3 separate regions of the Homo sapiens genome follow, and regions 2 and 3 are each linked to region 1. The links are contacts of gene promoters, found by promoter capture Hi-C in blood cells and fetal thymus (Javierre and others, 2016). All regions are on one chromosome and are shown on one strand. Each heading gives the region's core, a stretch centred on a gene start or on the middle of the fragment in contact. The rest is flanking DNA. Distances are from core to core; before and after follow the strand shown.

What was found. Contacts are between HindIII fragments. The CHiCAGO score rates a contact against its expected background, and 5 or more counts as called.
Region 2: a fragment that was not itself captured here is called in contact with the fragment with the promoter of FKBP1A in region 1 in 1 of 17 cell types (fetal thymus); the score reaches 5.5 in fetal thymus.
Region 3: a contact is called between a fragment that was not itself captured here and the fragment with the promoter of FKBP1A in region 1, in 3 of 17 cell types (naive CD4 T cells, fetal thymus and total CD8 T cells). The highest score is 6.4, in naive CD4 T cells.

What each region holds. Positions count from the first base shown.
Region 1 is chr20:1,391,201-1,395,179 of GRCh38, reverse strand. FKBP1A (FKBP prolyl isomerase 1A) reads left to right here and starts at 2,126. Exons shown (of 5, transcript NM_000801.5): 1 at 2,126-2,218; 2 at 2,299-2,346. The coding sequence starts at 2,182. It overlaps FKBP1A-SDCBP2 (FKBP1A-SDCBP2 readthrough (NMD candidate)), which reads left to right and starts at 2,008. Exons shown (of 10, transcript NR_037661.1): 1 at 2,008-2,218; 2 at 2,299-2,346. MIR6869 (microRNA 6869) reads left to right here and starts at 2,219; the gene lies at 2,219-2,280. RefSeq lists silencers at 2,070-2,119, 2,320-2,419, 2,430-2,499 and enhancers at 2,234-2,734, 3,526-3,979. The HindIII fragment of the contact is 4,016 bases long and covers 1-3,223 here.
Region 2 is chr20:1,772,273-1,776,251 of GRCh38, reverse strand. It overlaps the pseudogene LOC100289473. Among named protein-coding and RNA genes, the nearest start is that of SIRPG, 120 kb to the right of the region's middle. The HindIII fragment of the contact is 3,499 bases long and covers 33-3,531 here.
Region 3 is chr20:1,122,065-1,126,043 of GRCh38, reverse strand. It overlaps PSMF1 (proteasome inhibitor subunit 1), which reads right to left. Exons shown (of 7, transcript NM_006814.5): 2 at 394-546. Among named protein-coding and RNA genes, the nearest start is that of PSMF1, 5.5 kb to the right of the region's middle. The HindIII fragment of the contact is 380 bases long and covers 1,520-1,899 here.

The sequences.
Region 1 (3,979 bases), core at 877-3,376:
TCAAAAAACTGTGAGGTCATGTTTAAAACACTACAGGAGCTGGTATGGTTTAGTTCTGTGTCCCCACCCAAATCTTATCTTGAATTGTAATCCCTATAATCCTGAGGTCAAGGGAGGGACCCGGTGGGAGGTGATTGGATGGTGGGGGTGGTTTCCCCCATGCTGTTCTCATGGTAGTGAGTGCATTCTCATGAGAAATGATGGTTTTATAGGTGTTTGACAGTTCCTCTTCACATACTCTCTCTCATGCCTGCTGCTGTGTAAGATATGCCTGCTTCCCCTTCTGCCATGATTGTAAGTTTCCTGAGGATTCCCAGCCATGCAGAACTGTGAGTCAATTAAACCTCTTTCCTCCATAAATTACCCAGTCTCAGGAATTTTTTTTTTTTTTTTTTTTTTTTGAGACTGGTTCTCACTCTGTCACCCAGGCTGGAATGCAGAGGTGCAATCTTGGCTCACTACAACCTCCGCCTCCTGGTTTAAGCAATTCTTATGCCTCAGCCTCTCAAGTGGCTGGGATTACAAGCCTGTGCCACCATGCCTGGCTAATTTTTTTGTATTTTTAGTAGAAACTGGGTTTCACCATGTTGGCCAGGCTGGTCTTGAACGCCTGGCCTCAAGTGATCTGCCCGCCTCAGCTTCCCAAAGTGCTGGGATTACAGGCATGAGCCACCGTGCCCAGCCTCAGGTATTCTTTATAGCAGTGTGAGAATCGACTAATGCAGAAGCACACACACACACAGATCAGAGAAAGATTAGTCACATGTGCCTCCTTATGTCCTAGACCATGTCACAGTGTTCTCTTGCGTTACAGTGCCTCTGCAGGTACTGCTCCTTCTGCCTCCCCTTACCCCAACACATACACACAATTGGCCTTCTAACCTTGGCTAAACCTGGCTAAACCTGGCTAACTCAGGGAAATATCTGACCACATTCCAGACTAAGTGAGGCATCTCTGTTATATTAACACGCCCCTCACAGCATGTATTACTGTCTCATAATATTACAGATTTGAAACTTTACATTTATTCCGTATCTTTTTTTACTTAAACAGGTTATTTGATTATCTCTCCCACATCATACGTAGATTCTGTGAGGTCAGGGACTAAGTCTGACTCCTTCACCGCTGTATCCTCAGCACCTAGCACAGTACATGACATACAGAAGGTGCTTGTCAAAGTCAAAATAAAATATGGAGATGAATCTCTAAATGTAATGTTTTATTTGGGGAAGCGAGAATCGCAACTCGGAGCATACACACAGATCTGGTGGTCTTTGGTATGTCCGAAAAACAAAGAGAAGGCTGGGCGTTTTATTAGAAAGGGAAATGCATTGGCACTAGTAAAGTTTCAGGGAGCTGGCAAGCTCTGATTGGTGACTGACAGTGGTAAGTAAAACTAGTATTAGGTTATGGCGGGTTGTTTCAGCAGTTACTAGCTGAATCTGGTCTCAGGGGGACAGCAGGCCATTTCCGCAGCAGTTAGTGGAAATATTGGTTCTTGGAGCAGGCGCTGCGTGCCTCCAGTGCTTTTCCCCTGGCCCCTGGATTCTGATTCCGTTGGGCATAAGAAGAGTGACCCAATTCGTATTATCAACTTTCACATGCTCAATAAGAATGTATGCATGTAAGCTATGGGTGAGTGAATGAATTTGGACAACTCCTCCTCCAGTGAAGAAAAGCAGAACTTACAACCTTGAGCCACTTATAAAATACTAACATACTACCACCACCTGTGCGCTGTCTTCTCAGAACCATGCTCTTCCCAGGATGAGTAACTGTGTGCTTCTAAGTGGAAACCTGATGACAGTCACCCAGTCAGTGACTGGCGGACCCCCTATTATTACTCCCATTCTTTGGGCAGGGAGATGCTTAACCGGCTGGAAGCACAGAGGAAGGGCAGGAGAACGAAGCAAGTCACCCGGCAAACACAGCTGTATCCGGAGGCCTCCGGGCTTCCGGAGGTCTCGGGGCTTCTGGGCTTCCGGTCCCTCTTCCGGAGGCCTGGGTTTCCGGGACGTCGCGCGCCGTGTGGGGCGCGCACGCAGGGCTGGGCGTGAGGGGGCGTGCGCGTGCGCAGGCGACGCGCCGAGGTACTAGGCAGAGCCGTGGAACCGCCGCCAGGTCGCTGTTGGTCCACGCCGCCCGTCGCGCCGCCCGCCCGCTCAGCGTCCGCCGCCGCCATGGGAGTGCAGGTGGAAACCATCTCCCCAGGAGACGGTGAGTAGTGGCGCGCGGCGGCTCGGAGTACCTCTGCCGCCGCGCGCATCGGCTCAGCATGCCCGTCTCTGTCTCCTCAGGGCGCACCTTCCCCAAGCGCGGCCAGACCTGCGTGGTGCACTACACCGGTGAGTCGGGGGCCCAGCGGGGAGGGGGCCCGGGCCGCAGTCCGCAGCCCGGGTGCGGCTGGCCGTCGAGGCCTGGGGGCCCGGGGCCTGGGGTCCGGGGCGTGGCGGCGGCGAGGTCCGCATGGCCCGAGGCTGAGGCCTGGGCGGTGGCTCAGGGGCAGCCTGGGGCTTGCGGAACCCGGGCGGGTCTGAATCGGCGGCTGTGAGCGTCGGCTGCGGGCTAGGTGTTATCTGACCCGTCAGAAGCATTTCTGCACCTTAGATGCTGCCCTTATGCCCGCTGCACAGATGAGGAAACTGAGGCTTGGCGAGGCGAAGTCACTTTCCCAAGGTCTCACTTTCCCAAGGTCACACTTTCAGGAATGGGCAGAGCTCTGGCCAGGGACCATTAGGAAGGATTTGTACCATTTCTGTGCCCCTGCCCCCACTTCCATCCCTCCCTTCACTGGAGATGAGGACGAGGTAATTCCGAGTCTGCAGAGCTGCTGCTTCCTCCGGGGAACTCGGAATTCGCCCCTTTGCCTAGGGTGGGGAAACATCCCACTTCCTAAGTCATTGCTTTGGCCCTTCCTGGCCTTGGGGGAAGTAGAGCTGCACGGCCTTCTTCCGTCTTTTTACTTTTGAGCCACTTACAAATCCAAGGCTCAGTGACAGCGCTGGCTCAGGCTGACCGAAAGCTGCACGTGTAATTTAGTCCCCCAGCTCTTCTAGAAGTAGAGACTTTTCTCGTCCTCATTTTAAAGATAAGCATCTGGAGGCTAATACATAGTGATAATACAAGCCAAAGGAAATTTTAGACACCTCCCCCTCCCCAGCCAGAATTCAGACATCAGAGTCGTGTGCCTTGGGGCTGTCTTACTCCTTCTCCTTACAAGCTTGTCCTGGTTTGTATGGGGGCGGGGGAGGGGGAGAGCTGAGTTGGCGGAGACTCAGTGGCTGTGGGTCCCACAAGGGTGGCAGTGATTGGTGTAGCCACAGTTGTTGATACGAATAACCTTCCCTCCCCCTCCTCCTTCCCCTTTCTCAACCTTCCCACCCTTTCCTCTGTTCCCCCTCCTCCTCCCTCTTTTTTTCCCACTCCCTCTCCTCCTCTTCCTCCTCCTGGGTAGTAGGCTGTGGGCAGTTCTGGCCAAGTTGCTCACGAATAAGCTCCACCTTTCTCTTCCAAATCATGGAAACATGGAGGGATCCCTCTATTGAGGGAAATGACTTTCACTGGAAAGAGGAAAAGGCAACTAACATCCCCCCTCCCATGCCCTTTTATTTCTGTGGCCCTTCCCCGTGGGTAGAAATGGGGGCAGGAGGTAGAAGTTAAGGACTAGAACTTTAAAAATTCTGCCAAAGGAGGAGTTACTGAAACCCATCTTTCTGGGGAGCAGGCAGTCTCATGTCCGTGAAGGAAGCTGGAAAGTGCTTTTGATGTTTTAGATAGCTGTCCTTGTAGGCCACAGTCAGCACCTGAGCCTGGGAGGTCTGGTAGATGAAAGCGCATCCTTTTGGTGATTTGTCATCGGAAGGATGAGGAGAGTAACCATTTACAGTGCTGGGGTGAGTGGGCAGTTCATTCAGTTCCGCAGCCAACTGGGGCAAAGATTGGGACTCAAGCCGTGAGGAGCTGCCTTCTGCCGCACCC
Region 2 (3,979 bases), core at 533-3,032, 380 kb before region 1:
TTCTTTCCTATCCTGCCCGAGAATACAAAGCTTAGTGTTATCTCAAGTCTCTTCTCAAATCTCAATTTTAAATGCTCTATTTCTGATATTTATTTCTTCCTGAATTGTGTGGTCTTATCGGTCCATACCAGTTAGTTCTCACAATTAGTATTTAAACTACAAGGGCGTTCCCAAAGTCCCCCGACCTGGGGTTTTATTCCATTTACACCCATCTTCCGTGATTAGACTCTCACATCCTTGAAGCAGGGACTGGCTCTTATGTTTCGAGGTGGCCAAACGTCGGAGTCAAACAGATCAGTGTCCCCAGCCATGTGACCTAAGACAAAACAACTCCCTTTCTTTTTTTGAGATGGAGTTTTGCTCTTATGGCCCAGGCTGGAGTGCAATGGTGTGATTTCAGTTCACTGCAATCTCTGCCTCTCGGGTTCAAGTGATTCTCCTGCCTCAGCTTCCCAAGTAGCTGGGATTACAGGCACACACCACCATGGCCAGCTAATTTTGTATTTTTAGTAGAGATGGGGTTTCACCGTGTTGGTCAGGCTGGTCTCGAACTCCTGAACTCAGGTGATCCACCTACCTCGGCCTCCCAAAGTGCTGGGTTACAGGCGTGAGCCACCACACCTGGCCGCAACTCCCTTTCTGAGTCAAGTTTTCCATTGTTGTAATGACAATTGTTATACCCACCTCAAAGAGCCCTGCTTAAGATTCCTTTCCTTGACTCCTGCTTGGCATCTGGACAATGGGGCCCATAGCAAGTTCTCTGCAGTGACTGTTTGCAGTTTCCACAGTGCCTAGCCCAGAGCTGAGCTGCAAGTAGGACAATATTAAAGGTCATTGGTTAATATAGAGCCAACTGTGCAGAAGTAGAGGCAGCTATGATGTAACAGAAAAAGGCCTTGGCTTGGAGTCAGAATTCCTGGGTTACAATGTCAGTTCTGTTCACTGTGAGGCCCTTGGATGAGTCACTAACCCTCCCTGAGCCTTTTCTTTATCTGTTAATATTAAAAATATGATTAATAATAATTCCTTGGATGGTCATTGTGAGTATATGGTGCGGAGGGCTACCGTTTATATAGTGATTACTGTGTGCTACATATTCTACACTAGTTACATCACTTAATTTATTAATTAACTCTGAGAGAAATGCAAATCAAAACCACAATTAGATACCATCTCACACCAGTCAGAATGGCAAGTATTAAAAACTCAAGAAATGACAGATGCTGGCAAGGCTGTGGAGCAATAGGAACGCTTTTACACTGTTGGTGGCAATGTAAATTAGTTCAACCATTGTGGAAGACAGTGTGGTGATTCCTCAAGGATCTAGAACCAGAAATACCATTTGACCCAGCGATCCCATTACTGGGTACATACCCAAAGGAATATAAATCATTCTATTACAAAGATACATACATGCGTATGTTCATTGCAGCACTACTCACAATAGCAAAGCAGTAAAATAAATTCCTTGACATGGAATCAATCCAAATGTCCATTGGTGATAGACTGGATAAATAAAATGTGGTACATATACCCCACGGAATACTACGCAGCCATAAAAAGGAATGAGATTGTGTCCTTTGCAGGGATGTGGATAAAGCTGGAAGCCATCATCCTCAGCAAACTAATGCAGGAAGAGAAACTCAAACACTACGTGTTCTCACTCATAAGTGGGAGCTGAACAATGAGAACACATGGACACACGGAGGAGAACAACACACACCGAGGCCTGTTGCAGCAGGTGAGGGGAAGGAGAGCATCAGGACCAAAAGCTAATGCATGCGGGGCTTAATACCTAGGTGACGGGTTGATAGGTGCAGCAAACCACCATGGCACATGTTTACCTATGCAACAAACCTGCACATTACGTACATGTATCCCAGAACTTAAAGTAAAATAAAATTTAAAAAAAGAAAGAAAAGAAAAATGTACTTCATCAAAACTAATGGCTAAATAAACAAAGGAAGTCTGAATTTAATTATACTCCAGATATCAAAATGGGATGAATAGTTGTTATAAAATTTAAGCCATTCTTCTTCTATTAAAAAAAATCGCCCCCATTTTACAGATGAAAAAACTGAGGCTCAGAGAGTTAAGTTGCTTGGGCTTCAGTGGAGAGTGGAAATGTAAACTTGGGTTGAGTGAGATCCTAAAGCCTGTGCTCCTAACCTTTTCTCCATGGTTCCAGCCTCTTCTCCATGACCCAGCCTCTGAGAAATGAGGTTTTCTTCCATTTTCAAAGACTGAGGGTAGGGCTGAGTGACAGTAAGGGGTGCCGACCCTGGAGCCTGACTACCTGGCTAAGATCCCAGCTCTGCCACTGACTGATGGACCTTAGACAAGTTACTTAGCCTGCCTGGCCTCAGTTTCCTCATCTGTGAAATGGGGATAGTAACAGCACCCACTTCTGAGGGCTGCTGTGAGAACTCAGTGACTTAGGGAAGAGCCTGTAGGCAGGGTAGGTGCCAAGTGAGTGTTCGCTATGCAGTATCTGTAGGAGTTGACCTCCTTACAAACTGCTGTTGCCCATTGCTACAGTTTCACTGTCCGGCCTCCGTTATCAGATTCAGAAACTGGTTCCTATCAGAACATAACCTTTACATCTTATGAAAGAGGAAGCAATGGGCTTCTTGGCAGATGCTGTGTATTTGTTCACACTGGGGTTCAGGCACCTCTGTGCCCTCTCATGGGAGGGGTCTATCCTTGCAGGCCAGAGTGTCCAGCCTTACAAGTTGCAAGGCCCCCTTCAGCGATCTGAGCCTGGCACAAGGATCCGATTGACCTATGCATCCTCTGGGTTCTCGACACACCAGGTTACTGTGACCTGGCTTAAAAACAAACACGAGCTCCCAAACCCCCAGACCAGCGTCCAGTACAGTGGACACACCTACAATGTGACCAGCAGTGTGCTTGTCCCGCTGATGGATGATGATGTGTTCTCCCACGTCGTTTGCCATGTGGAGCACAAGTTGACGTGGTTTTTCCAGAAAACCACTGGCCTGGACCAGTACCTCCAGGGTAAGATCTCTCTCTCTGCTCAGCTGAGGTAGTGCAGAGTTGGGGTGGGGACTTCTCTGAGCCTCAGTTTCCTCAATGAAAAATGAAGAAGAACCTTCAATGATAAGCAAGCACATCCCTTGTTTGATTGAGGCAAGAATTTAGTGAAATAATACCTGTAAAGCACGTAAGACAGTGCCTTGCTCATACTAACTACTCAGAAGTGGCAATTGTTATTATTATTATTATTTACAGCACTTCTCAGAACTCACTTCTTTCATCTGTAAAATGGAGACAGGATATCTTCTGGGAATTCAATTTTATTATTATCATTATTTTATAGGAAGAAGATTTGAAGAGCTTGGGAAACTAAATTCTAGGGCCAATGGTGTCTTTAGACGGGTTGGACCAATGCTTGGTAGATCTGTGAATTCCATGAGGTCATAAAGTATCATGCCTAGAAGAAATCTTAACCGTCATCCCATTGTTCTGACAACTGTAAAAGTCAGAGAAGGCAAGTGAGTGGTCCAAGCTTGCATAGCAGTAAAATTAATTCCTTGAATGTATATTGGACTTTAAAATCTACAAACTATATCTCTCTTCATTTTCTCATTCACAAAACAGGGGGAGAATTGTGCTATTGGGAAGTAAACACATCATGTTACATGGCAGAAAATATTGGTAGTAATGTCTCAAACATTTACAGCACGCAGACAGTAAAGCACACTCATGTGAATGGACTTCAATGCATAGAACTTCCCTATACTGTTTGTGCCATTTGTGGGTTACAGAAGGAAACTGAGGCTCAAAGAAGTGAAGGCTGCTTAAGGTTGTAAAGCCGGTGAGTGAGAAACCTTGGCATGAATTCCAGCTTCCAACTCTGCTCTATTTACCAGTTGTGGGATCTGCTGCAAGTCGCTTATGTTCTCCCATCCTCAGTATTTTTGTCTGTAAAATAGAGAAATGATAGTTCAGGGAATCT
Region 3 (3,979 bases), core at 460-2,959, 270 kb after region 1:
AGATGGGGGAGGGGAAGAGCCTTCCAGCATAGGAAATGTAAAGTGCAAGGGCTCCAAGGCAGCAAAGAATTCAATTTATTTAAGGAACTGAAGTAGCCCATTGGGGTTACCTAAGTTTTTCCCTTCTATCTTGTCACTGAATAGATTTACCTTATTTAACCATTCCCCTGTTGACAGAAAGCCCCTCCTTCTTAATTCCAGGTGGTGGATACCTTTGTGCACGAAGGTTTTCTATACTTAGGGTTCTCACCTTAAGATAAAGTTCCAGAAGTGGGATCACTAGGTAAGGGCTACATGAACATTGAAGCTCTGGATTCGTACCGTTAAATGGGTTTCAAAACAGCCATTCCTATCCCCATCTCATCAGCAGACTCACGTGTCCCAGAGACTCACCAGCACATTGAGGATCATGCTGCTCTCCACGGTGATGGCTTTCACAAGGAGCTTTCTGGACCCATCCTTATACTCATACCGGAGGACATACAGGTCTTTATTGTTGTTCCACCCAGCTGGCAGCAGTTCTGACTTCTTATCATTGGGACCCGGCTGGGAAGACCACAGTTGAGAGGAGAAAGATCATGAACTCAAAACACAGAACTATAAAGAACCTCACGAGATAAGCTAATCTTACCCACCTCACTTCACAGATGAAGATGTGGAGGTCAAGAGAAATGACTTGCCCAAGATCCTACAGCGAGAGAGAGGTCTAGGGCCCAGGTCTCTGGGCTTCTGTTCTACTGCGCTCTCCCTCATATTGAGCTACCTTTCTGACACAGCACTGGAACCTGTCAAGAATCTGCAGTGTTGGTTTAATAATTATCTCTTCCCCATCCCACTGCTAAGAATAAAGCCAGTCATCTTGAGGAACACTGCGAAGTTCTAAGTAGTGTTTTTCAAAGTTTGGACGTTAGGCTAACTTCAATAGGATTACCAAGGTGTTGACTAAAAACACAGATCCGAATACACGCTAACTGACTGCAGTGATGTACAAAAATTATAATTTCATAATACACAAAATGTAGCACATGTACAAATAACAAAGAATTATAAAATGTCTCTACCACCAGCTTAAGAAATAGAACATCAGCAATACTGCTAAAGCCTTGGGTAGCATACTCCAATAAATGTCCCTCCTTCCCCTTCAAGGGTAATCACCACTCTTAAACAATTTCTTTACTTTTCCTTAGAGTTATATTACTATACATGCAACCATAAAAATATAGCTTCAAATGTTTTTGAATTTTAAATACACAGCATCACTTCCGTCATTTGCCTTTTTTATTTGATAGTTTTTGGAAATGTATCCATGTCAATGCATTTAACTACAGCTGATTCACATTCACAGCTACACAGCATTCTGTATGACTATGCTGCAATTTATACATCTACTTGTTGATGGTGATTTGGAGTATTTCCAGCTTATTTGTTTTGCTATTATAAACAATGCTGCTATGAACATTCTTGTACACATCTGGTACACGTGGATAAATTTCTATACAGTATGCATGGAGGAAAAGCTTTTAATTTATAAGATAAAGTCAAGTTGTTTTCTAAAGAGTTACTGATTTATACTCCCACTAGCAATGTATGAAAGCTCCTGTTGCTCCGTGTAGTTGGCAACATTGCTATTATTGCTTGCCAATCTAGTAGGGGTAAAATGCTTGCCATTTTCATGCTTGTCAGCCTGGTGGGTGTAAAATACATCTTTTATTGTGAGTTGTGATGTCTTCCTCTTTTCTTTTTTAAAAATCCTAAGACTTTCCATACTAAAGTTTGAGAAATAGTTCTCAAATTATTTCTACAGGAAAAATAATATAGTGATTTCTAGGTGGGGAAGATTTCTTAAACAAGATCCATAAAAGAAAATGCTGCCTTTGACACTGTTCATAATTGAAAGCTTCTGTTCTACAGAGACACTACTAAATTAATAAGGAGCCACAGGCTAGGAAGAGACATTTGCCATGGCTGCAAAGGAAAGAAATTAATAACCTCTACATAAAGGGAATGCCTGGAAAATGAACAATAACAATTGGGAACTCCAAAAAGTGGCAAAAGATATGAACAAGAAAAAGAGCGGCTAATAGTGTCTAAAGAGTTATTCAATTTTACTAGCAATCAGAGAAGCAGAACTGAAATAATGAGACACTAAGTTACATGATTCGGACTGTTATTACCCAGTTTTCTATTTTTTGCCAGATGTCTGTGTAGGTGTGGGGAGAATGGGAACCTCCAGTCCCTGCTGGTGGGCATTTAAACTTGCACAGCCCCTTCGGGGAGCAATCTGACAGTTTTTAGTGCAATTAGATGAGCCAATATCCTATGATCCAAAATCCCTACTCCCAGAAGAAACCCTGTGCACAGGGTACATAACAAAGGATCTTCATTATAGCCTTGGCTAAGGTAGCAAAAGTGGAGATAAAATGCAAAATATGCTTATAGTGGAATACTATATAGCAGTCAGAAGGAATAAACCAGATCTAATGATAGTATTATATATAAAAGAAAAAATATGATTTAAAGAAAAGTTCCCCAAAAAATGAGGTTTACACTCCAGTACCACTTATGTAAAAATTTTAAAAAGCACAAAAAAATGCTATAATCTTTTTTCATGGATGTATATTTATATTGCTCACCATGGGGCAGGTGGACTGGGAAGATCTGTAGTCATGAGAATACAGCGGGAGGGAGTGGGACCGGAGATGAAGAAAATGGAAAAGACAAAGGTCCAGCAAAGCAAAACTTCACACACCAAGGACAAGGGGAGACCACACATTGAGAATTGCTGGCCTCTCCTGTTTCGTCACCCCTGGTGCTCAGAAATCCTCTGGGGAAAGAGATCCCAAATAAAATTCAGGATGTCGCAACTGTCATGGTTTAAAACCTGGCTGGATGACAATGAAATTCATAGGCCTGAAGCATAGAAATGAGAGTGAGGAAAAACAAAAGTAAAACTAATCAAACCATTCTTCTGCGAAAAAGAAACTATCCCCTCACCCCAAACTGGGTAAATTTCCCGAATATGTTTAGTGTTTAGTGTCGTGGATTTGTTTACTTTGGAAGCCAGGAATTTGATGACATCCTCATCTTTGCTCTGGCAAACGCCTTTAAATTTATATTATATCCTCCATGTACAGCATTCAATCCACCAGAGTTCTCTCTTGGAATATAAACAATTTGGTCTGCTCACCACCCCATCACCTTTGGCTTCCAGAGTTACAGAAAATCCCTGAAGTCAGGTGAAACTGATATCTCTAACTGCAGTGCAATTGATGTTCCCCAGTAAACAGAGGACAGACCCTGGCGATATCAGGCCAAACATGGTCTGCAACTGCCCTGTAAACCCTGACATCAAATATCAAGAGTCCCAGAAAGCCACAGTTGGAAAGTAGCCTAAGTACACAGTCACGTGGTTTAACTTCCTCTGATGAAAAATCAAAGGCCTGAGGCTGAGCGCGGTGGCTCTTGCCTGTAATCCCAGCCCTTTGGGAGGCAGAGGCAGGCAGATCACTTGCATTCAGGAGTTCGAGACCAGCCTGGCAAACATGGTGAAACCCTGTCTCTACTAAAAATACAAAAAAAATTAGCCAGGCATGGTGGCGGGGACCTGTAATCCCAGCTACTGAGGATGCTGGGGCAGAATTGCCTGAACCCAGGAGGCAGAGGTTACAGTGAGCCAAGATAGCACCACTGCACTCTAGCCTGAGTGACAGAGTGAGACATCTCGGATTAAAAAAAAAAAAAAAAAAAAGAAAAGAAAAAGAAAAAGAAAAGAAAACTCTAAGGCCTGAGATGGTCAGAGAGCTGCCCAAGGTCTCAGCAAGTCAGGTGTAGGGCTGTGCTTGGAATTCAGAGCTCCTGATTGCCCAGGCTATGGCTAGAGAAGGTTTTTCCCAGCCAGGTCCACAAGACTGGCCCTAAGAGAATAAAGATAATTGTCTTCTTAGGCAAAATCCTGGCACTGGAAGCATTCTTTAATGGC